Regions from separate parts of the Homo sapiens genome. Here regions 1, 3, 4, 5 and 6 are each linked to region 2. Evidence: promoter capture Hi-C in 16 types of primary human blood cells and fetal thymus (Javierre and others, 2016). All regions are on one chromosome and are shown on one strand. Each heading gives the region's core, a stretch centred on a gene start or on the middle of the fragment in contact. The rest is flanking DNA. Distances are from core to core; before and after follow the strand shown.

Region 1 (4,229 bases), core at 972-3,471, 160 kb after region 2:
GGATGCTGTGAGGCATCCACCATGTGTGATAGGGAAGAGAGGTTGTGTGCCTGGAGCAGAACAAAGAAGAGCTGAGGCCATATAGGCAATGGCAGTAGAGGAGATGGCTGGGGCGGGGGGGTGGGGGGCATTCAATTATTGATTTGAGGTGATGTGAAACATTGGCAGGCATAACAAATGCTCAGGGGAGGGTGAATGAACTATTTAACTGTAAAAAAGAGGGATAAATGGGAGGGTCAGTATAGTGGTTCGTGGCTGTCAGGTAGACATCCTCCCAGCTCCAAGTAAGCCAGTGTGAGTGGGGTAGAGAGGAGAAGAGGACCCCACAAGTAAGGTCCAATCCAGATTGTGATGTCCTTCTGTTACCTGAGTGTTATGTTATACAACTCTGTACCAGAAATGCGTGTGGCTCACACAGTATGATCATTCACTCATAATGTTAACATGTAATTTTCTCTGCTTTTGACCTGTTGGGTGAGTTTTGTCAACATTAATTTCATTGGTCTCTGTGTCTTCTTTTATGGTTTATGACTATGGTTTGTGTTGATTGATGGCCAGACATTGTTTGAAAAATATAATAAAGCATTATGGAAATGCTGAGTAACTAGATTATTTTTGCTTATATGACTCAGAATTGGCAACTTTACAATTTATGTTTTATCTCCTGTGGCTGATTACCTTGATTGATCAAGGCAAATGGAAATGGAGCCCACTTTGGGTGGCGTGGAGCATGGAGCCAGTGGACATTGGCAAAGTAGAGATGACAACCTTTCAGAGCTGGAAAGGATGTTGTCCAATTTCTTCATTTTGCAATGTAGGAACTGAACTTGGAGATGTCAAGTGACTTGCCAAGGTCATACTGTAGTAGGAGAACTAGGAGGCCATTTTTCGTTTTTTCCGTTGAGGATAGAATCTTTAATATTTGTTAGTGACAGTCGGAAAAAACCACTATTTTCACTGTAAATATTTCACATATTTACATTTAATCACTGATTAAGTGTAAAATAAATTTAAAAATATTTAAATCAGGTTTCATTTACCTGTGTTTCATGTATAATCTCCATTCTCATAGGTCTAGGGGTCTATTTTGAGAATCAGTGGAGAATTTGAAGAAGATAGGGAAATGATCAGATTTATACTTTAGGAAGTTAATCATCTAGTGGATGCATTCCTCATTATTGTGAATGAGTAAATAGAAAATTATATATACTTTAAAATATTTCTTAGTGCATTACTATTAACTCAAAGCTAGTCTTAGTGGCATAATTTTTTATGCGTACAAGAAACATACTACTCTTGTTACTAATTATTTGCAGATACTGCCATTTGTTTTTCCTTGGGTTGACTTAGTTCAGATAGTTGAAACTTTTTATTGAGTGGTTTATAATAGTGATGTACAGTTGGGGTTATTCACACTTGGTGGTCTTTTAGAGCCCAGTGTGATGCAGAATAAGACATCTGTCATTTTGTAGTTGTCTCAGTTCTTTTAGGTTGCTATACAAACTGCATTAGACTGGTGGCTCATAAACAACAGAAATGTATTTCTCACAGTTCTGGAGGCTGGGAAGTCCAAGGTCAAGGCACTGGCAGATTTAGTGTCTAGTGAGAGTCTGCTTCCTCGTTCGTAGATGACTGTCTTCGTGCTGTATTCCCATGGTGAAAAGGGTAAGGGGTCTCTCTGGGTCCCTTTAATAAGGGCGCTGTTAAAATAAATTAAAACAGAAAGCCAGGCCTGCAGAACCCCTGAGCAGACAAAGCCAGTTAGCCTTCGTAACTGACCTTAACCCGGCTTGATTTGCAAATATAGCCAAAAGTTAACTTGAGCTATTTCTTATAAATGCCTATATTAAACAGAAATGAAACTTAAGGCTAACCAATCAGAAGCTGCCAACTAAATTATAGTTATATAACTATATAACTAGGGACTTTCCAACAAGATAGACAAAATAGTAAGGCAACTGTATAACTATAACCAAATTGTTTTACATCTGTATTCACTCTCTAAAAGTCTGTCTTTAATGCTTCTCCAAAGAAGCCCCCAAACCACTCATGGTTTGGAGCTCCTGATTCACAAATCAGTTTGCTCAAATAAACTCTTTAAAATTTTATTGTGCCTCTGCAGAATACCTGGTGTTCAGCACTATACCTCAGTACCTTTTAATGGCACTAATATCATTTACAAAGACTATCTCTCATGACCTAATCACCCTCTAAAGGCCCCATCTCCAAATACCGTCACACTGGAGATTAGGTTTCAACATGTAAAGTTTGGGGACACACAAGCATCAGTCCATAAAAGGAGTCATCAATGGAGGCCCCCTAGAAATCCACTTCAGACTTGCTGTGGAACATACCCTATATCCATATATTCTTTGATTCACTGCTATAGAATGAAGCATTGCTGTCGCTCATTAAAATGATTTTTTTTTAAATTTTTGTGGGTACATAGTAGGTATATTATATTTATGGGGTACATGAGATATTTTGATACAGAGACATAAAATGCATAATAATCACATCAGAGTAAATGGGGTATCCATCACCTCAAGAATTTATCATTTCTTCATGTTACAAGCAATCCATTACTTTTAGTTATTTTTAAATGTACAATAAATTATTGTTGACTGTAGTCAACAACACCCCACAGAACCCCACAGAATGGGGTTCTTGTAAAGTATTGACAAGAGATTAATGGATAGTTTGCAAATATTTTCTCCCATTCTGTGGGTTGTCTCTTCACTTTGTTGATTGTTTTCTTTGCAGTGTAGAGGTTTTTAAACTTCATGTGATTTCATTTGTCCATTTTTGCTTTGGTTGCTTGTGCTTGTGGGATATTACTCAAGAAATCTTTGCCCAGACCAATGTCCTGGAGAGTTTCTCAATAGTTTTCTTTTAGTAGTTTCATAGTTTGAAGTCTTATATTTAAGTCTTTAATCCGTTTTGATTTTATTTTTGTGTATGGCAAGACATATGGGTCTAGTTTCATTCTTCTGCATATGGATATCCAGTTTTCCAAGTACCACTTATTGAAGAGATTGTCCTTTCCCCAATATATACATTCTTGGCACCTCTGTCAAAAACTAGTTCACTGTAGATGTATAGATTTATTTATGGATTCTCTATTCTGTTTCATTAGTCTATGTGTCTGTTTTTATGCCAGTATCATGATGTATTGATTACTATAGCTCTGTAGTGTAATTTGTGAAGTCAGGTAATGTGATTCCTTTCATTTTGTTGTTTTTTCTCAGGATAGCTTTGGTTATTCTGGGTCTTTTGTGGTTCTATGTAAATGGTTAGGATTTTTTTTTTCTGTTTCTGTGAAGAATGTCATCGATATTCTGATGGAGATGACATTCAATCTGTAGATTGCTTTGGGTGGTATAAACATTTTAACAATATTAATTCTTCCAATCCATGAATATGGAATAGCTTTCCATTTTTTTGTATCCTCTTCAGTTTTTTGCATCAGTGTTCGCTATTTCTCATTTTATTTTATAATCTGGGATATTAGTTCATTTATTAAGTGCACACGTATGTATCTGTGTGTTTACTGCTCTGCGGAAATACAAACTAGTATAAAACATACAAACTAGTATAAAACATGATCCTCTAGTTAGGGAGAATAGGCATAAATATATGAAAAGTTGAATATTTTACCAAGATGAGGCCTCACAAAATATTATATATATCTCAATTATCTTTTCAAGTAATAGCTTTCACTTTTTGAATTATCTTATCCACATAACTTACTTTTTAATTTCTGCAAGGGAAGGTTTTTACTTACGAGAAAAAACAAAGCTCGGAGAGATGAACTTGCCCAATGTCAAATAGAAAGTGAAGAAAGTGCACAAATTGAAACTGGGGCTGTCTGTATTCACAGACCTTATCATTTCTCATAAAGCCAGTATGATGGAGATTTACCAATTTCTTTTTTGCCATCCAGGTATCAGAACCCACTCTCTATGTTTGGGAAATGCTCTCCCTCTGATGCCATCCAGCTACTCACCTCTCCAGGGTTCTTGCTGTTAAGGCATGGGGCTGGGCTCTGCCAATCAGATCCATCTTCTCTCGAGACTATGAGAAACTGGGACACAAGGAAGCACACACCACCCAGAATATATTTGGACAACATTTGGGGGTGGAGGCGGCAACCATATTTGGTTCTCAAAGGCAGCAGTGGCAGTAGAGTTCCTGCAGCAGCACCCAGGGTCTGGTCACTGGCTGCTGGA
Region 2 (3,855 bases), core at 333-2,832:
GAAAATGAAACCAACTGAACATCTACATCAAGGAAGCTGAAGGTGTAGCCAACCCAAGTAAAAGAGACAAATCTACGCGCTATTCAGATTTTCTAGCTAGTGGCAGTTGAACGCTGTACCAGCTGTCATATTCTGAAGTTCTGCAGTTTTCCCCTTTTCCCTACAAAACCCTCTCTACTCTAAAGCCTGTAAGTAACAGAGGAAATCGAACAGAGGATGAAGAGAAATGGCCGATGGGACATCAGATCACAAGAGTAACTGCAACCTCATTTCTAGAAGACCAAAAGGCCCGGTTATCAAAGTACAGCTCTAAAAATCTCTATCAGACACCTTTCGCATCCACACAGATCTCCATCTGCGTCCCTTATTCATAAATCTTTTTAAAGCAAACCTCACGCCTATCCCTCGGGCCTGCTTATCCAAAACTCAACCAATCTATACCATGACTCCTCTTGGTGAAAGGCAGATTGAAGGGAGGTGGAAAGGGCTGGAAGGAATGTCATGGGAGAGGCGGCACGTGCAAATAACATTGCGGCAGAGACACTGAAAACGCCACTTCCCTTGCCACTGTTGCAATTCTCTTCGTGTATCATCCTCTTACCCTCTCTACCCATGCCACCTCCTACCTCAACGATACACACACGTGTCACAGCCGACCAGCACCATCGCCTTTTCCAGCATCACAGGTTCCCCTACCACCCCTCACTATCCCCCCACATAGGCAGGCAGACACACACACACACACACACACACACACACACACACACACACACGAGAAACTGCAGCCACCGCACCCTCCTATCTCGATAAGTGCTCCTGCCAACAGACATCCAGAGCGGACTGAAAGCTCAATAAATGCGCAGGTACACACACGCAAGCACACACACACGCGGGTGCACGCGCGGCATGGGGCGCAAGGAAGGGCGGCATGGGGCGCAAGGAAGGGCACCCTGGGGACGCACCTGGAGGCTGGGTGTCCAGCGCTGCCGCCCCCCTGGTCCCTGTCATTGAGCGCAGCGGTATAAATCCTCCGGTAGCGGTCGGCCAGGGCCCGGCCTGACAGCAGCAGCTGGTAGTGACCCCGGGAGTCCGCGGCGGGTAGCCCCAGCCCCAGCCCCGCAGCAGCCACGGAGCCGTCGGGAACCGGCATGAACAGCGCCCCCGGCGCCGGGGAGGAAGAGAAGGTGGCGGCTGGGTAGAATCCGTCCCCGCCGAGCCCCGAGGAGGCGGCGGCGGGGGAGGCAGTCGCTGCGCACATCATCATCCTCGCCGCCGCCGCCGCCGCCGCCGCCTCGTCCCCGCGGGCCGGGCGGGCAGACACGCGCGCGCACACACAGCCCTTTTCCAACGACGACGGCTCCGGCGGCGGCCTCTGGCTCCCGCAGCAGGGAGACTACAAAGACAGCGACCTCCTTCTCCTCCTCCTTCTTCTCCTCCTCCCCCCCGCGCCGCCCTCGCCGCTACTGGGGCCGCTCATCTAACCCCGCCACCCCGGGAATGTGAGGAGGAGGCGGTGCCGCCACTGCCGCCGCCACCACCGCTACCACCGCCACCACCGCCGGGGCTACCCGCAATGGGAAGCTGCCGGCCTCACAGAGCATGCGCCACTCCTCGCACATGCTCAGTAACTGCCGCCCCTTTTCCTCCCCACCCCCTCTCCGCCACCACTCCCTCCGCCTCGGGGCTTTGGGTTTGGGGCTGTTGGGTTGTGCGGAATCTGAAGTAGTCCACTTCTCCGGGTTTTACTGGCAGCTTGAAGAAGAGTAAGGAAAGTGCTGGGGAGGCTGTCAGCTACTGACGTTCGACTTCAGGTTCCCTCCAGGTGGAAGAACGAGGACCAGAAAGCAAGGGGGAACGTGCCCATCGCCAGAGGAGGAGTGGCACGCTCTTCTGCTACCTCTTCTCCAAGGCTCTGCTGCCAACAGGAAGATTTACTGTGAATTGTGCTGGTTAATTCAGAGTTTAAGGCAGAGAAAACCATCCCAATTAGAAGTGCCTTTAGCGATCTTATTTTATATGGTTTTTGTCATTAGGATTTACGCTTGTTTAACACAGCTTTTACTTACAAAGACAGGTAGTAATCTAGCACATTCTTTTTTGTGTGTGAAAGTATTTTGTGTGTGAAAGTATAACAGATAGGCTAGTATTCACAAGCCAGAGTCATTCCCAAATTCTTGTTCTCAACGGAGCAATAATATTTTTTAAATTACTCTTTTTTATTGACTCCTCACTCACCTAAGAGTGCACTTTTATCTCTTGGCAGTGGTCATTTAATGGTTTATTTTTTTCTGCCCAAACTTACATTTTTAAAGATAATTCTTGAATGCGATCTGAAACAATAATTGTGACGGAGACTGTATAGCGTCTGAAAATGTCAGATCCATCACATATCTTGTTGTTGTCTATAAAAAAGTAACATTTGCTCAGTCCTTTGTTCCAAGCTAACCTACGAACCCCATCTAAGTATATGCTCTAGAAATATACGTGCCAATGCACTTTGATTCCTACTACGTTTTATCCTTTGACTCTCAATTTGAAGAGTTTCCTAATTTACAGTCCTGACAAAATAATTTATAAGTTCTGTCATCCCAGTACTGTATCTTTCATCTATGTACTAGTTCTTATATCTGTGCCTCTTCTTCGGATGGCCTTCTCTTAAAAAAAAATAAAATAAATGTTAAAAAATCCTCCTTAGTGTTTGAGAAGTGCAAACAACAAGGAATAGGAAAGTAAATTAATTCTAGTTTTAGGGTGGAAGGTTGCTGAAAGCAATGCATTTTTTTCTGAAGCTTTAAATAATGGATGGATTTCATTTAGTTTTTTTAAAGATAATTAGCAGTGGGATAAACATAGGAACAAAGGACAAGACATGTGGAATCATAGTATTTTAGTACTGTAATTAGCCCTGTTAAGTTTTTGTATTTGTCTTGTTTCCTTACCTAAGTTCCTTCAGAGCTTGCTGCTTTTGTGTCTCCTTCAGCCACTTCAGGACTTTGCATGTAGTAGGTATCCAGTAAGTATTTATTAGACTAAATTTCTATCCTAATGCTTCAGCACAGTTAAAGACCTCAGTGTTGACCAGGCAGCCCCTAACCCTGGAGTGAGAACCAAGACAATGGTGTAGAGGCAGCTAAATTCTAAGAATTCTAAGGCCTGACAGGTAAGCAATGAGAGGGCCCATTACTATTGCAAGACCTAGCAGGGTAGCTAAAAGGCTCTGAAATCAGACAGCCCTGGAATTGGATCCTGACTCTGCTACTTAATACTTGTCTGGCTTTGGGCAAATTATCTCCTCTGAATAATGCTCAAAAGAATACCCACTACATGAGATTGAGGGAGGACTTAAAGGATCTAGGATGTCCAACTTGGCACATGAATTTTCACAAATGGTAGCACATACTAAACAAAACACTAGGTTTTCCGTAGGGTAGCAATGGTGTCTGTTCAACCATCACAGGCTCCTAGCACAGGGTCTAGCCCTGAACAGGAGGGAAATAGATGTTGGCTGAATGAATGAATGTTGCTTGCACAGAAAACATTTACAGCGCAGGCTCAGGTGGTGGAATGTGCAGTCACTGCCCATTTAGAGTTTCTAGTGGACATTGACCCGCGTGGCTGCCCTGGTCTCCGGGCTCTTCCCACCATTCATTAATTTCGCTTCAATCTTTACTGCTGTTCAGTCCCAGACAGGCCCCTACGGAGCCTGATGGGTACACTCAAAACCCGGAAACTGGATAACTTGCTAAGAAGCCCGATGTCATTGAGCTGCGCAACTAGGCGTGCGCAGAGTCGCACACATGCTCACTTAGGTATCCGAGAGTGGCATTTCTGTTGCGGTTGGCAGCGTTTCCTTCC
Region 3 (4,100 bases), core at 1,072-3,571, 180 kb before region 2:
TCTAGTTTCTCATTCCCTGATTTCTTTAACCTCAATAACTTCAACTTTTTTTCCAGCCACTCACACCAAAAGTCACAGACCTGTGACATTACTCAGAATTGTTCTGTCTCTGAAATCAAAATAAAATGGCCTGTTCAGTTTTTTACCTCAATAACTATTCTTATATCTACTTTGACGTCTAGTCCCTCTTACTTCCTTGACTCTGAAATTTCTTCCCTTCCAAACTAAATTAGGTTCCACTGTCCTCTCTTTAGCTACCATATACTTAACTTCCTTGTTCCACTGTTCTTTTGCTGGTCTAGCAAAATTTTAATGCTAGATCCATCCAAATGATTGTTTTATCCATGCTCATATGACTCACACTGTTATTCACAAATAATCTTCAATTTCAACTGATTATTCAAAGGCATCTAATAAATCTTTTCTGATCGGTGCTTTCTTTTAATCTCTAGAATAACAATTTCATTTTATCCGCTTTGTTTCAAAACCTTGACCCTAAGATTCATCACTTCCATTTCCATCCCAAAACACATAATTACTGTTTTAAATAATTCCTTTGGCTGCAAAACCTACAAATTTACTAGCATCTGTATTAAGCTTTCTTTTCCTTCTTCTGGTAGAATGAAACAAGCACTACTCCTCCTCCTATTTAAGGCCAATGCTACCACTTGAGCTCTAGATTCTATTTTTATATTCGGAGTATCTTTATTGTTTTTTCTCTCAATTACCTCCTAATCAGCACTCAAATATGTAACTCTATCTCTATTAATAAGACCCCATACTCCAAAGCCTTCACTCAATTCCATTTCCTCTGGTTCTTTCTATAGTCAAACATCTTGAAAGGCTTATCTACACTCACTTCAGCCATTCCCTTAATTATGTGTTGCTTCTTTGGCTAGTATTCTTACCAATGTGAATCGTTTTTCCTTTTCCTTTCTTTTTCTCTTATCTACCTTGTAAATCAGTATTTCTCAAAGTTTAGGTTTTGAATTTGAATCACTGCATATTTGTTTCAGGTAAATTCCTGAACCTCTCTCCAAACCCACTGAATCTAAATCTCTGGGTGCTTGGAAATCTTTTTTTTTTTTTAAGTAAGTGCTCCAGATGCTTCTGATGTAGAGAAGAGTCTGAGACTCAGTGATATTGGTGTTTCTTAGGATCCTATCCTGGAACTTCTGTCTTCATTCACCATAGAAGGTATCATCTATTCCCATGACTTCATAAGTAATGTAAGTGCTAATGATTCCTGAATCCTTTTCTTGAGGTCAGACTGTGATCACTCAGGTCTGTACATCTAACTTTGTTTTATACATCTTCACGTAGGTATTTCAGAAGTATCTAAAACTCACCTCATCCAAAACTGAATCTGCTATCTTTCTCAACCAAAACCTGCCCCTCTTCCATTATCAATTGGACACAAGCTCAATATGTGAATTTCATCTTTTATTTCCTACCTTTCTTCTTTACTCCACCTCCACTAGCTACCAGGTTCTACTGATTCTATTGAATCTATCCTCATTGACAACTCACTAGTCCAACTGATCAGCATATCTCACCAAATTAAGTCAATAGTCCCCTAAAGAGACTAAAACCAAGTCATGTTTCTTGATCATCTGCCCAATTACACTGTCCATATTCCACCACAATCGTTACAAAACACAAATCTAATCAAGCCATTCCTCTACCCAAAAGCCTTCAATGGCTCACCACTGCTCTCTGAAAATGCCAAAATTACAAACTTCAGCTTCAAATAATGACTACCTTGATAATTCGGATTAACATTGCCTCTGAAGATAACTAAAACATCCAAAATATATATTTTTTAAATGTCTAAAGGTATTAGAGAGCTAAAAATCCCAAAGAGTTCTAGGAGATACATCTGGCATTTGAGAGAACCCAAAATTGAAGGGGGCATAGGTAAACCCCAAAACCCTGAAGAGATACATTCTAGCAAGAATAGTAAACTGCAAATAGACAAGTACTTAGAAATTTTATTTTATTTTTATTTTTTTGTAGAGATGGGGTCTCACTACATTACTGAGGCTGGTCTCGAACTCTTGGCCTCAAGTGATGTTCCCTCCTTGGCCTCCCAAAGCCCTGGGATTATAGGTGTGGGCCACTGTTCCTGGTCAGAAGTAGACAAGTACTTTCACAGGAACTGAAACTCAGCCTAATCCATCTGTATCTCTGATTCGATTAACTTGATCTGTAATTGGTGATCCCCTCTGGACATCTGCCAAAAACCAATGAAAATCCTCTCTGAAGACAGGATAACATCATCTTAATAAGTGTTGCTGCAAATTTAATATCCATCAAATGCTCTTTGGACTTACAATTTCATGTCTGCATCTGAATCACTGAAATGTTGGTTAAATAAACAAATGCTGAAAACTAAAATTTTTCTGATAAGTAAAATAAATTACCTTCATCATTGTTATGGCAATATATCGAGCTTCCTTCACTATCATTGGTTCATATGAAACATCTAGCTTTGGTGATGCCAGCCCTCCATAAGTCATGTCAGTATTAGAAGATGCAGCTGTTACTGCAGGACTGCCAGGAATCCTTTGAGGTTTCTTTGCTTGATCTTGTTGTAAAGACATTTTTTTCTGAGAAACAGGGACAGCTTTCACTTCCACCTAAACATGGTATTATAGAAACCAAATACCATTATTATTTAATTGTCACTGACATCAAAATAAGCAACTTACTATTATAAACTCATAATTATGTATACTTTATGTTAGCATTGGTCTGTCTCTGGCATTCCCTTCAAAGGCTTATTGAAAAGAGTTCAAATGACCTCAAGATGGGTTGACAATATGAACCATGAACACGGTGTAAAAACAAGGCCTCATAGTTTTGGAATACATAATCAGAGATATCAAAACATAAAAACAAATGCACCACTAATAAAGTACAGGAAAAGATAGTGGAATGAATCTACATTAAGTTATTGCAGGGACTAACAAATTATTTTATCAGGTAATGCAAGTGTAAATGCTTTCCCACAATCTCAGCACATTTTAAAGCACTAATGTCAGTTTGAGCTGCACTGTTCTACAGAAGAAAATGTACTCTATTTATAGAAGTTTCAAAAATTAACACTTAATAAAACAAATCTTATACCTAAAGCCCAAATATGTTTCTTTACTCGGGTGAAGAAAGAATATTATTAGACAGCCCTATCACCAACATCAACATTTGATTTAAGCAATCTATTAAATAATTAAACTTTGCAACTCACTTTCTTTAAGAATAAAATGGGACTATCTTTCGTCCACTAACTCTACAGTATAGATGCAAAAAACAGATTCGTTAATGGATGTTAATATACTGAAAATACAAATTGTCTTATAAAAATACCTTTTAGATATATTTTCCAGGAATTATAACTTTGCAACTCAATTTCTTCAACAAAACGGGACTATCTTTGATCTACTAACTCTACTATTTCATCTACTAACTACTATTTCTGAAAAATACTTTTTAGAAATATTTCCCAGAAATTATAAGAAAACATTGTTTTTATTTGTTTATGCATTGGCAGAAAAACACTTGACCCCTAGGCAACCACAAATGTACACACAATTTGAATACCACTTTAGTTCTTCAGCAGGTATCACCATTCTGAGCTTTACTCAAAGTTTCTGCTGCTCCCTACAGACAATAGTTTTGTGGTTGGCAAGAACAGGTAATTCAACAGAATTGTCACAGAAATAGAAAAAGTGCAGAGATAAAAGTGATAGTATTTTTAAGTAATTGAGAGCTACCTCAGAACTACAGACTGTCTTTATGTTTATTGTTCTTAACAACGCGATTCTATGGAATCAGTAGTTTGAGACTTTCGCTATTTATATAATGTTAGGCACAGGTGACAAATATGTTCCATTAAGTGACCACTATCTTCAGGTGAGGTTACAAGAGATCAGTATTTGGACTGACACAAACCCCTGGAAATATTAAAAACCCATTCTTATATTTAAAAAATGGCAGTTTACAGGTATATGGTTAAAATTTCAACTCAAACACATGTGCCAGCATAAAAAGCTTTAAACTTTAAACAATTAAAAAATCTGAAGATGATACAGACAGGAGTC
Region 4 (3,831 bases), core at 572-3,071, 160 kb before region 2:
CTAATCTTTTTTTCACAAAATCCTTAAAACATTGTCTTCTCCAAAACTCAGATCAGGCTGTGCCCCTTGCCCAGGGTACCTTATTTATTCCTCGAATGCAATCCAGATACATAGTAGGTCTTTAATAAATTTCTCTAAAAATTAGATAAACATTTTCAATGATACACCCTTACTAAATATACATAAATGCACTTATTTTACCACATAAAACAGAAGAAAAAAAAAACTTACCTGGCAACACCAAAACCATAGTAGGCCACCCAGAGGATCCTGAAAATTTCTTTAATTCTATCCATGAATTAAGATTTTCATGAACAGATGTCAATTTTGGTCCATATCCTGAATTCTGAACAGTTCTGACAGGAATCAACAAACGAAGGACATCTTCTGACTGTGCAGTACCACACTGAGGGTCAAATTCGATTGTCATCCACCTCACACATTCTGGGAATGTCACCTGAGGTCAACAGGCAAAGTGACATGAATACAGATATATATATACACAAACATACACATCTGCATCTGTATGTGTGTGTGTGTCTATGCTTTTATTAAATGACACAACAGGATAAAGTACAAAATTAAAATAGAATAAAATGTTACCTATGACAGAGAAGGAGGAACAGAGTAAAGAGGACAGAGATAAAAGCTAGATTTGTTTCATAAATTTGACTTCAAAGTATGTAATTATGTAAAGAATTATAAAACAAAATCCAAATTTAAAAAGCAATTCCTAAAATCTAAGATAAAATAAATGACTCTCTAAGTGTATATCCAATGAATGCATAATCATGCAGAGGGAGCATTCCAACTTACTTTAAACACAGTAATTTGACATACACTTAGATGGGATATACTTCAAAGACAAAACACACACATACACACACACACACACACACACACACACACACACACACACACACACACACCAAATGAAATAATTTAATGATTTTCTAATTCTGATATTCCCAGTGTCACTAATAGGAATTTTAGATATAAGAGAAAGGAGACTGAGGTGTGTCTGTGGTCCTTGTTTGAATTAGTATCAACAGTATAAACTCATGAGGTATTTTATCTTTAAAAAACTATACACATAAATCTATCTGTACATAAACATATATACATTTATGTATATACATATATAAATATAACATGTGTGTGTATGTATAACAGAAATCAGGACACTTTGAAAAAATGGTTAGTTCCAAGTCTGAGGCATCAAACATATAAAGGGAGCCTGGAACATCTTATCCTACCAGAAAGCAAGGAAGCTAGGAATGACTGCAAGAGGGGTGTCTGAAAGAACCAGCAGGTAAGCTGAAGAGGCTCCCATCTAACAAATACATAGGATCCAGTTTCTTCAACAAATAGAACTCAAGGGAACAAAAAGAGAGAGAGACAGAGGGAGACTTATAGATTTAAAGGGACTTAAGATTAAAGGGGACTTAAGAGACATACTAATCACAATATATGGATTTTATATGGATTCTAACTCAAATTATTAAAAATTTACATGATGTTTGCAGACATTAAATTGTTTTCTTCAATGTGATAATACTATGGTTATATTTAAGGGTCTTTATATTTTGGAGACATTGTATCAATAAATATCATAAATGTGCTTTAAAACAATATAGGAGGTTAGGAAGTAGGTTGGGAATAAATAAGACAGGTCTGACTAACAGTTGAAACTGCTGAATCTGGGATGATGGATAAACAAGTGCACTGTACTAGCTTGTTTACTTCTATATGCTTAATAGTTTCTACCATGAAAAGTGGAATATTTTACAAGCACACAAAATACAAGTTTATCCTTCTCTTCCTTAATTTGCATGATACAATGAAAAAACAAAGAATACGGATTTTGAATACTCTCTAATAACATTAAATTTATAAACATTTTATACATAGTTTTTTTAACATTATGTATAGACTACTTTAAATCTTACATTGGGGTTGTAAATTTTCAGAGCTCAGGCTGTGGTACAAATAATGTTAGTTCAAAAAATACAATTTAAAATTGTTAATGCTTATATCTACTACTATTGCAAATCACAGCATGAAGTTTAGCATTATATACCACACTATACTTGTAGGAAGATTTAAGAACAACTCTCATAAACCAATAAAATTTTATCATCTTTGAGATAAAAATTCCATCTTAAATTATTTTATATATCCAACAGTGCCTAATCACCTGCTGATTCTCTATATGTAAATACTATAAAAGAAAATACACTTGTAAATACAGGCCAGGCATTCTTTAAGATATCATCAGAGAACCTCATGCCAAGTTTTACATTCGAATCACACTAAGAACCGGTGCCTACCTTGTAATGCATCACACAGGCAGGTTTATACGGGTGCTCACTCTCTATGACAGCATAGTGACTGGAGGTTGTACAAGCAGAGAGGCCCTGTTCAGGCTGGTTTCCTGTGGTGCTATCTGTCGACTGATTAGGGTTGAAGGCAGGCGGTGCATACTTCTGATTCAAAATGGCAACTGACGGAAGCAATTGTTGGACAAGGCCAAAGACTTCTACAGCCACCTAGTACACATATAAAAATATGGTTAAATGAGATACACGTGAAAGTGGTTCTAAAATTATGCATTACAATAATTGTTGGTTACTCTAATAACAATTTCCATCTAAATTTTCCACTAGTTAAGTTTTTGTCCAAAGAGAAATCTTTCAATTGATTAAAAAAAGATTTATCTTAGATGTTACATGACAATATCTAAATCTATATTTTTAAAAACTTGTTTTTTCATGATCTGAAGTAAATCAGGTTTTACTTAATTATGCCAAAGAATCAATAGTTTATCATTTCTTCCATCTCTTGAATATGTCACTATTTTAAAACACTCTTATCCTTTAACATTGCTATTGTTATTAATGAAGACCATTTGGCATCAACCTCATAAATGTGAAAAACCTCAGTTAACATAATCTTTCCTTACATATCATATTCCTAAAATTGCTAAAATCTATTTCCCATTCACAGATTCTTCAAATGTAAAGCCAACAGGCCGGGCGCGGTGGCTCACGCCTGTAATCCCAGCACTTTGGGAGGGCGAGGCGGGCGGATCACGAGGTCAGGAGATCGAGACCACGGTGAAACCCCGTCTCTACTAAAAATACAAAAAATTAGCCGGGCGCAGTGGCGGGCGCCTGTAGTCCCAGCAACTCGGGAGGCTGAGGCAGGAGAATGGCGTGAACCCGGAAGGCGGAGCTTGCAGTGAGCGGAGATCGCGCCACAGCACTCCCGCCTGGGTGACAGAACAAGACTCCGTCTCAAAAAAAAAAAAAAAAAAAAAGCCAACAAATAAGCACAGCAATCCAGTAAACAATACTAAGAAGAGAGAAGTTTAATAATTAGCAGATCTATCTCTGCTTGTTACCTATATCCCAGATGCCTCAAAGATGCAAGTTTTTGTAAAGACAAGACACAAAGTCTTTTTTTAAAAAAGATATTTAAAAAAAACATTCAAAGTTATAGAATTAAATTACACACCTTGGGAATAGCAGCAGCTACTGGTCCTATGTAGGCTATAATAAGGGGGAGCAGCATGGAAAACAGACTGGAAGAACTCAGCAGTTCTGGAATGTCATCAGCTAAAAAAAGGCATAAAAGGCATTAAAACTATAGTCAGAAGGTAATTTCATTGTACTGCATACATGCTGTACTAAATCTATATTCTGCTCTTTTGAGCGAAACTATAGTTGACACCAATTGGGTGCTTGTCAAGGGCCTGGTACTATTCTAAAGGCTTTTGAGAATACATGCCTTATCTCAACTAATACTCACAATAAGATACTTTTATTATCC
Region 5 (4,083 bases), core at 213-2,712, 140 kb after region 2:
ACATCTTGTGTCTTTGAATTCAGATAAAATAGAGTTACAGCTAATTACATCTTGGATTTGTTTTACAATTACAAATATAGAAGGTAGATGAAGAAAAATTATGTTCCAATCTTTGAAAACTGCCATTTGGAAGATTGTCTACATGATGGTTTACATTAAAGGTGCAATATTAGCATGGCTTTTTATTACTAAATATATTTTAAAATATACATTTGGGCATTAACTTTAAGATACTTATAAAATATTTTCTTATTTGCTAAAGCGAATCCCTTTGATTTATAATATACTTCTTGTCCATTTATAAATATTTAATGAAACCTTACTCTTTTTTTTGCTTTTTATGGTGCATAAAATAGATTGATAGTGTCTCAAAAGTTTTTTTATTTTTCCATTTTCTGTTATAAAAATAATCATGAATACCTTTATGTGTCAAAATTTCAAGCCAATACTACTGAAGTGAGAATAATTTTTCTACTTTTTAAAAGAAAAGTCACAATCGTCTGTCAAGTGTTTTAAAATTCAGATTCTCATTCAAAAATTTGCATGAGATTTATTTTAAAACAGTTTTTTTTCTTCCCAAGATGATAGTAAAAGATAGGAGAGAAAAGAAAGAAAAGATGGTAAAAGATGATGGTAAAAGACACGGCTTGACGCACCTACACATACGCTGATAGACTATAGAGCACCTTAATTTTTTTCCCTTTTTGATCTCCTCACCTTTTTTTTTTTTTTTTTGAGATAGAGTCTCACTCTGTCACCCAGGCTGGAGTACAGCAGCGCGATCTCGGCTCACTGCAACCTCCGCTTCCCGGGTTCAAGGGATTCTTCTGCCTCAGTCTCCTGAGTAGCTGGGACTACAGGCATGCACCACCATGCTCGGCTAACTTTTTGTATTTTTAGTAGAGACAGGGTTTCACCGTGTTAGCCAGGATGGTTTTGATCTCCTAACCATGTGATCTGCCTGCCTCCTAACCTTGTGATCCGCCTGCCTCAGCCTCCCAAAGTGCTGGGATTACAGGCGTGAGCTACTGCGCCCAGCCTTGATCCCCTTTTTATGATTAATCTGTTATTACGTGAGTTTTGAGATAAATTTTCATAAATGCTTAATTTTTCATACATAAAATGATTAAAATAATTCTTACAAAGAATAGTAAGTAAGTAATTTTTAATAAGTATTTTTAACATTGTGTTGAGGTTAAAGAAGAAGGCATATACAACATAAGCACACACTCATATGGAAGTTTCAGGAAAGTAATAAGCAGAGAAGTCCTGTAAGTCATGAGTTGGGGCAGGGGCAGGGATTGGAAAGGCTGAACTTTTATTGTTAAATATACCTTGGGCAGTAGTGACCTTGGCTTTGGGCAAGATTCCTTAATTTTATTTTATTCCCAAATCTGTTGCAAAATGGAGAGTTCGCAGGAGGTGGTTATTTCGGTGAGAATGAATTTCATGGTGGAACGGTCATGTGACTGGAGTCCATCAAGGGTCAGTTGTTTCCTTGTGAGTGGTTTGACTTCCCTTTGGGTCAGCCTGAGTGAATGTCAGGTGCTTTTTCACATGGTGAAAGTGAGCTCTTCTGTAGCCACCTCTGAAGAAAGCTGGCCACTATGGAGCAGGGGGCAGAGGGGTAAAGAGCTCCTCAATTCTTTGCGGGCAATTCCCAAATCCAAACTCCTCTGAAAACTCAAAGACTTTGTTTTTTTAACTTCATTGGCGATAGTATTGGACCCAACCTGATGTGGGACTATTTGTAGATTTAACTGAAAATGTTAATATTAGTGTTTGATTATAGGTGCTACCCAGGCCCTGTATGACATCCCATGTGATTTTCCACCATATTATTCTAAAAGTCAGAATGCTCCTGAATTCCCAAACACCTTTGATCAGGAAAGATCTCAATATTATGCTAAAAGACCCCCTCAGTTGAGGATGAGGATACAAACAATCTGTCTTCACCTACTGGATAGGATGAAATTAGTCAAAAGGGTGAAGGAGAAAAGAGACTTGTCTAGCTACCCTACTGCAACGTTATAGATAGAGATCCAGAGGTCACAGTCCCCTTACCTGCTCAAGGCCCTGTGACTCAAAAAAGAGAAAAGTAGGATTCTAGTCTGTCTATTTATCCCTTGATAAAAGCATCAGTTCTAGGCCTGCGGTAGTCTCTAGGATGCTTCGGACAAAGCAATTTCCCTAGCTCTGTAAGTGAGACTATTAGCAAACTGAGGTCTCAGGGTTGGGTGATATATGTGGAAGGAGACTGTGAATCTTTTGGAGACCGTGAGCGATGTTAAATCAAAATTTTCACTGCCACGGCATTTCACCATTGTGAAATGTCATTTTCTTAGACAATTAGGTCTCCAAATTCTGCCAAAGGCCACTTAGTCTTTCCTTTCTCTTCTAGGAAGGAATGTGCCTAAATTTTCCCAGAATAATGGGTGTTTCCTTCAGAGAAATAGATTGCTCAACCTGGCTCAGTGGCAGCCAAATCCAGAGAATAACAAAATTTAGGGCAGAATTTTTTTTTCATATCATACCAAGAGTACTGTATAGAAATCCAAGGTACTGCATGATGGTCTGTGCTTAACTATGACAAAAAAAAAAAAAAAAAAAGGGACTCAGAGGTTGCTATTGCTTAGTTATAACGGTGACAAACCCCTTAAGACTTTGATCAGACACTCAGGTAGTAACTTGTGGCATAACTATGGAGCATCGCCTGGGAAAGAATGGGAAACTACTTCCCTGACCAGTCTTTTAGCTTGTTTCCAGTTTAGGAGACTATAATGCAAACTGTCTATGCAAAACCAGGAATAACCTAGCTCTTTTAAGAGAGATCTGAGGCTGAGGGAATGAAATACTTAAATGATTAGATAATTAATGATTAAATGCTGCTGGATCCAAGATTGGTGCTTTCTACTATTTCCTCTTTGTTCCTGGGCAGGACCTGAAGGTCCCTTGCAAAACCTCCAGATTGCCTTAAAGAATCTCTCCAAGCCTTGCTACCTACCTGCATTCTATACCTCCTTCTCCTTCTTCTCATGTCCCTGCCTCTTTCTCCCCCATTCCTTTATACCTGGGTTGTTTCTTCCTACTCAGCCCTTTAGTTAGTTGTCTTATTAAGTTGTATTTTTTTCTGGGTCTCTACTCGTTTGTTAAGAGCAGTTGATCACCCTCAGTAGTGACTGACTAGAGGAACACTCTCCATGTTGGTTTCTGGCACAGAGTTTGTGCTCACTGAATGTGTTTCAAATTGAATATTCACAGTATCTCCGCCACAGCTATCTCTCTTTAGTCTGGCATTTCGTGGACGAGTGATGAGGAGAAACCAGCAGGTTTCTACATTCACACAAATTCTCAGCCACTTGGTTTTTCCCTTCCAGCTTGAATCATGAAGAGCTTCAGAATAACATTGGTTTTCTCAGACTGGTGTATTAGCTGGGACAGACCAACTACTATCACATAGAATTTCAAAATTTCAAAGTTTAAAATTGGAATTAAAACTCCAAAATAAAACTTAATTTGTCACGTGTTTTGCAGGCCTAGCCTAGTTGGCTGACCAGTGGACAGCTTTCCTCCAGGCAGCAATTCAGCCTCTAGATCCTTAGACTTCTCCATTCATTGGGTGCAAAGGGAAATAAGAGAGAAAGAATTGTGGGCAGGAGGACGTCATAGACCAGGCCTGGAGGTTGGACCCATCACTTCTATTTAGGTTCCATTGACCAATACCCAGTCACAGGCCACATCCAACTGGAAAGACAACTATGATATATTGCCCACCAGTATACTTGGAAGAAAGGCAAAGTGGTTTGGTGAACCACTAACTGGTTGCTGGCACAGATGTCGTGGATGAATATCTGTTTTTAGTAATCAAATGATTGCTAAAATGTTAAGAAAAAACATGGTAGCCTTAAAGAGTATATAGAAAGTCCTCAGCGATTCTTACAGTTGGGAAACCATTACATTTTGATATATTGAGTTATGGAAATGAAGTTGAATATATAAAAGTATATTAAAGCTTAAAATATACATGGTTGATATACCAGAATTATGTCTGCCAATATGTTAAATGTTTTCCATGACAAAGGA
Region 6 (3,925 bases), core at 1,094-3,593, 180 kb after region 2:
TTTAAATCAAGTATTATTTCAACAATGCTTTGAATAAATTTACAGGAACCCAGTGGGGTTTTTTCCTTTCAGTAAGACTAATCCCTAGATTTGAAAATTGATTGAATTGAGGGGTATGACAAGTTCAAATTCAAACATTATCATCACCTCAATATTAAACTAACCATAAAAATATTCCATATATAAAACATGATTAAAAATAATCACTGTCATAGTAGTTAGAAAATAAGGCTTCCTTCACCTGAAATTTTGTCCATTTGAAGAGGGAAGTGGACCACAGTAGGGAGGGTTGAAGACTGGAGACTCCCCAAAGAGCTCCCTGATATTTATTATCATCAGCAACAGAAATCCCAGAACACGGCCGGGTGCAGTGGCTCACGCCTGTAATCCTAGTGCTTTGGGAGGCCGAGGCAGGCGGATCACAAGGTCAGGAGATCGAGACCATCCTGCCTAACGCGGTGAAACCCCATATCTACTAAGAATACAAAAAATTAGCTGGGCGTGGTGGCGGGCGCCTGTAGTCCCAGCTACTCGGGAGGCTGAGGCAGGAGAATGGCGTGAACCCTGGGAGGCAGAGCTTGTAGTGAGCCGAGATCTCGCCACTGCACTCCAGCCTGGGCGACAGAGCGAGACTCCATCTCAAAAAACATAAAACAAACAAACAAAAGAAATCCCAGAACACTTTTTATTTATGAGAAGATGGCAATGAAATGTGTGTACTAAATTATAGTGCTTCTTTTTCTTCCATTTCTGAAAGCAGTGACATTCCTATTGGTGCACTTTAAAAAGGAAGCTAAAGTCAGAAGTGGATTGCTGCCTCCTGCTCTTTTTTTTATATTTTAACTTTTAGGTTCTGGGGTACATGTGCAGGTCTGTTATATGTGTAAACTCATTACTTGAGGGTTTGGTGTACAGATTATTTTGTCACCCGTTACTAATCATAGTACCCAACTGCTTTTTGTTTGTTTGTTTTCTGAACCTCTCCCTCTTCCCACCCTCATAACATTGAAAAATGTGTTCTTACATGTAATTGGGAAAGTAATTTCCTAAAAAGAATTTAATTAAGCCTTAAATAATAGGCTTCTGTCACCTGCATCCTTCTCAAAGCTGACTTACTGCTTCACTTTTTTTTTTTTTTCTGACTTAACCAAAGATAATGGACCTTTTGAGGTTCTGGCTGTAGGTTTGTTCCTGGTAAGTGGGCTTGAAGTATTGTGAGATCAAATCCAAAATGGTATTTTTTTAAACTAGGCTACCATGTGAATACCATTTCCCACCAAAAGTAACAGAAGAGTTCATGAACATGGAAAAAAAAAGTATTCTTTTAGCAGCTTGATACACAAGGCTTCATTATTTTTCTTACTTTGTTTCCCTCTAGTGCCCCAAAGTGAAAAGTGCATGGGTATTTTATATGGAGATGTCCAATTCAATTAATTTATTCATTAAAAAGAAATTGATTAGATTCATTCTTATTGTCCCTTTTAGAACTTGGGTACTACTGCTCCTTTTTAGGACATAAAGTCCTGAATCCCCTGTACTCCGCGATCCCACCAATACCGCTAAACACCTCTTCTTGGTCATACTCAGATTTCAGAACCAAGCAGATGATTGTGATTGTGTTTGTTTCCATGTCTTCTGCCTAGTTCTTATTTTTTTAAAAAATTTTTTTTGGCTTGGCGGGGGGTGGTCCTGAATTTAATAGGGCTACAAACTATAATCATAGGCAGGCATTAGGCTCAAGTTGGAACAATTTTTAACTAAAATGACTTAATATAATCACTTAATTTACTTTGTTATGCAATAACTCATAGTAATTTTTTTTTTTTTTTTTTTTTTTTTGAGACGGAGTCTCGCTCTGTCGCCCAGGCTGGAGTGCAGTGGCGCAATCTCGGCTCACTGCAAGCTCCGCCTCCCGGGTTCACGCCATTCTCCTGCCTCAGCCTCCCAAGTAGCTGGGACTACAGGCGCCCGCCACTACGCCCGGCTAATTTTTTGTATTTTTAGTAGAGACGGGGTTTCACCGTTTTAGCCGGGGTGGTCTCGATCTCCTGACCTCGTGATCCGCCCGCCTCGGCCTCCCAAAGTGCTGGGATTACAGGCGTAACTCATAGTAATTTTTAAGAAGGGGGAAATGCATAAAAAATGGACTACGTAGTCCATTTTTGACCTGGAGACATCATCCTTTGTCACATTTACAGTTACTCATGAGCATTTGTCTCTCCCCTAGTTTTAAAAAAGAGAACAATGATCAGGGCTTGCAACCACAGCAAGTGTTATTACCAGGGAGAATTATTATCTTGCTGATCATTCTAGGTGAGACTGCATATGCTTTGTGGTCACTGTGGGCTGGTGCTCTGGAGCAGTGATTCAGAGGCACTTACAATTTCTTTTGGCAGAATGCCGGGTATACATAGCGAAATGATATTTTTATGGCTTTTCTAGGGTTTGATGATCTCACATTTCAGGCTGGACAACTTCCCATAGTGATAGACCTATTATTAATTAGAGAATGTACGTGTGACAACCAGTAAGGGATGCTTTTGTTTTTTTCTCAAAGAAGAAGGTACTCAATGGACCATCTGGGGAACACATGATGTACTGTGAGGTTGTCCCACCCTGATCTTTTGTGGTCTCAAATATGTGACCAGACGCCTTATATTCCATTCTTGACTGTTCTCCATCAGATAAGAATCAGGCAACACAGTAAAAACAGTGCTCTGATTTCAGGCAATAAGTTCTTTAATACCTTTTTAAAGCTCAAGGTAGAATTGTTGAGCTGCAAGTGACAGCCTGCTTATTTAGAGTTAGAACAGGAGAGATTGAGATGAAGTAAACCTGGATGGGATGCTTTCTTTGGCATGATTTTAAAGACACTTGGCAATAATCTTCAAAGGAGGGTGTGTGTTTATCTTTCTTGGCATGGCTTTTGTTTTACTTCTGAAGCCCCACCTTTTCTTTCGGGTAATTTTTTTTCCCCAGTATGTCTGGCAACTGTGCTGAGGCTGCCCACAGTGCCAACTTTTCTGGGTAACTTAGGGAAAAAAATTGAATATGAATTTTTGCTGTCAAGTAGAAAAAGAATATCCAAATGATTGCTTTGCAGTTGAGTGTTGCTTGCTATGTTGAGATGATCATAGAGCAATCTGAGAACTCCAAAATTTTGGTAACTTATTTATATAGAACTCAGTGAAGTGAGCCTTTAAAACGAGAGAAAATATCAATGAACATTCTGTTTTACTTAAAAAAGTTATTCCAGTTCAATTACCATTACCACCAATTTCATTTTTCAATGGAAATCATAAGTACTGAATGTAACGGTTTAGGATTTTAAGCTCTCATGTGGTTGTAGACCCAAAATTTAAGATAGAAATGTATAAGAAGGACTAATTCTTAATCCAAAAATACAGTGGTCAAGTGAGTGAGTTATTGCTTCCTGGCCTTTTGGCTAAGATCAAGTGAAGTGCGTGGGTTTTAAAGGCAGACAATCTTTGAAAACATACTCTACTACTTACTAGCTGGAAGAACTCTATGAGGCTAAAGATTCCATAAAATTAAGGGTCTTTTCTTTCTTTTATGCCATTCTGCCTCTAGTATCTGGCAACTTGCCTGACACATAGTAAAAGCACAACTACAGAAGGTTTTTTCTTCCTGTGGATGAAAATTCTTTTCCAGTTAAGTGCTTTCACATAGAAAGATTGACCTTTTTCTCGTTTCTGAAGATCGGTTGGGTTCTGCCAAGAATCATATGCTTGAGAAGATGAAACATCACTTAGAAATCTGACATCTTTGCTTCCTGTTTCCTATTATGCTGCTCATTGTTGAGAATGCCATTTAAATTGTTCCTGAACCCACTTCCTTATAGATTGGTTACATGAGGTTAGAAATCACTTAACATTAAATGTTTTAACATTGAAATGAAGGAACT

Evidence for each region. The method cuts DNA at HindIII sites, captures the fragments that hold promoters and counts their contacts. A CHiCAGO score of 5 or more calls a contact.
Region 1: a fragment that was not itself captured here is called in contact with the fragment with the promoter of MYCBP2 in region 2 in 2 of 17 cell types (total B cells and naive B cells); the score reaches 6.4 in total B cells.
Region 3: a contact is called between a fragment that was not itself captured here and the fragment with the promoter of MYCBP2 in region 2, in 7 of 17 cell types (activated CD4 T cells, total B cells, non-activated CD4 T cells and 4 more). The highest score is 7.9, in activated CD4 T cells.
Region 4: a contact is called between a fragment that was not itself captured here and the fragment with the promoter of MYCBP2 in region 2, in 1 of 17 cell types (activated CD4 T cells). The highest score is 5.0, in activated CD4 T cells.
Region 5: a contact is called between a fragment that was not itself captured here and the fragment with the promoter of MYCBP2 in region 2, in 16 of 17 cell types (naive B cells, total B cells, naive CD4 T cells and 13 more). The highest score is 29.7, in naive B cells.
Region 6: a fragment that was not itself captured here is called in contact with the fragment with the promoter of MYCBP2 in region 2 in 3 of 17 cell types (naive B cells, total B cells and M1 macrophages); the score reaches 7.7 in naive B cells.

What each region holds. Positions count from the first base shown.
Region 1 is chr13:77,485,911-77,490,139 of GRCh38, forward strand. No RefSeq gene overlaps it. Among named protein-coding and RNA genes, the nearest start is that of SCEL, 48 kb to the right of the region's middle. The HindIII fragment of the contact is 9,502 bases long and covers 1-4,229 here.
Region 2 is chr13:77,325,512-77,329,366 of GRCh38, forward strand. MYCBP2 (MYC binding protein 2) reads right to left here and starts at 1,583. Exons shown (of 83, transcript NM_015057.5): 1 at 963-1,583. The coding sequence starts at 1,264. LOC127898562 reads right to left here and starts at 1,477. Exons shown (of 1, transcript NM_001414702.1): 1 at 1,394-1,477. The coding sequence starts at 1,477. The coding sequence ends at 1,394. LOC107984564 (a long non-coding RNA gene) reads left to right here and starts at 1,534. Exons shown (of 2, transcript XR_001749930.2): 1 at 1,534-1,624; 2 at 1,753-2,687. RefSeq lists enhancers at 1-62, 1,733-2,062 and silencers at 1,003-1,122, 1,163-1,542. The HindIII fragment of the contact is 13,146 bases long and covers 1-2,787 here.
Region 3 is chr13:77,148,311-77,152,410 of GRCh38, forward strand. MYCBP2 (MYC binding protein 2) reads right to left here. Exons shown (of 83, transcript NM_015057.5): 47 at 2,424-2,639. Among named protein-coding and RNA genes, the nearest start is that of MYCBP2-AS2, 69 kb to the left of the region's middle. The HindIII fragment of the contact is 3,453 bases long and covers 596-4,048 here.
Region 4 is chr13:77,166,098-77,169,928 of GRCh38, forward strand. It overlaps MYCBP2 (MYC binding protein 2), which reads right to left. Exons shown (of 83, transcript NM_015057.5): 39 at 3,517-3,617; 40 at 2,331-2,549; 41 at 232-457. Among named protein-coding and RNA genes, the nearest start is that of MYCBP2-AS2, 87 kb to the left of the region's middle. The HindIII fragment of the contact is 5,173 bases long and covers 1-3,831 here.
Region 5 is chr13:77,468,806-77,472,888 of GRCh38, forward strand. No RefSeq gene overlaps it. Among named protein-coding and RNA genes, the nearest start is that of SCEL, 65 kb to the right of the region's middle. The HindIII fragment of the contact is 5,096 bases long and covers 1-4,010 here.
Region 6 is chr13:77,505,686-77,509,610 of GRCh38, forward strand. No RefSeq gene overlaps it. Among named protein-coding and RNA genes, the nearest start is that of SCEL, 28 kb to the right of the region's middle. The HindIII fragment of the contact is 8,598 bases long and covers 1-3,925 here.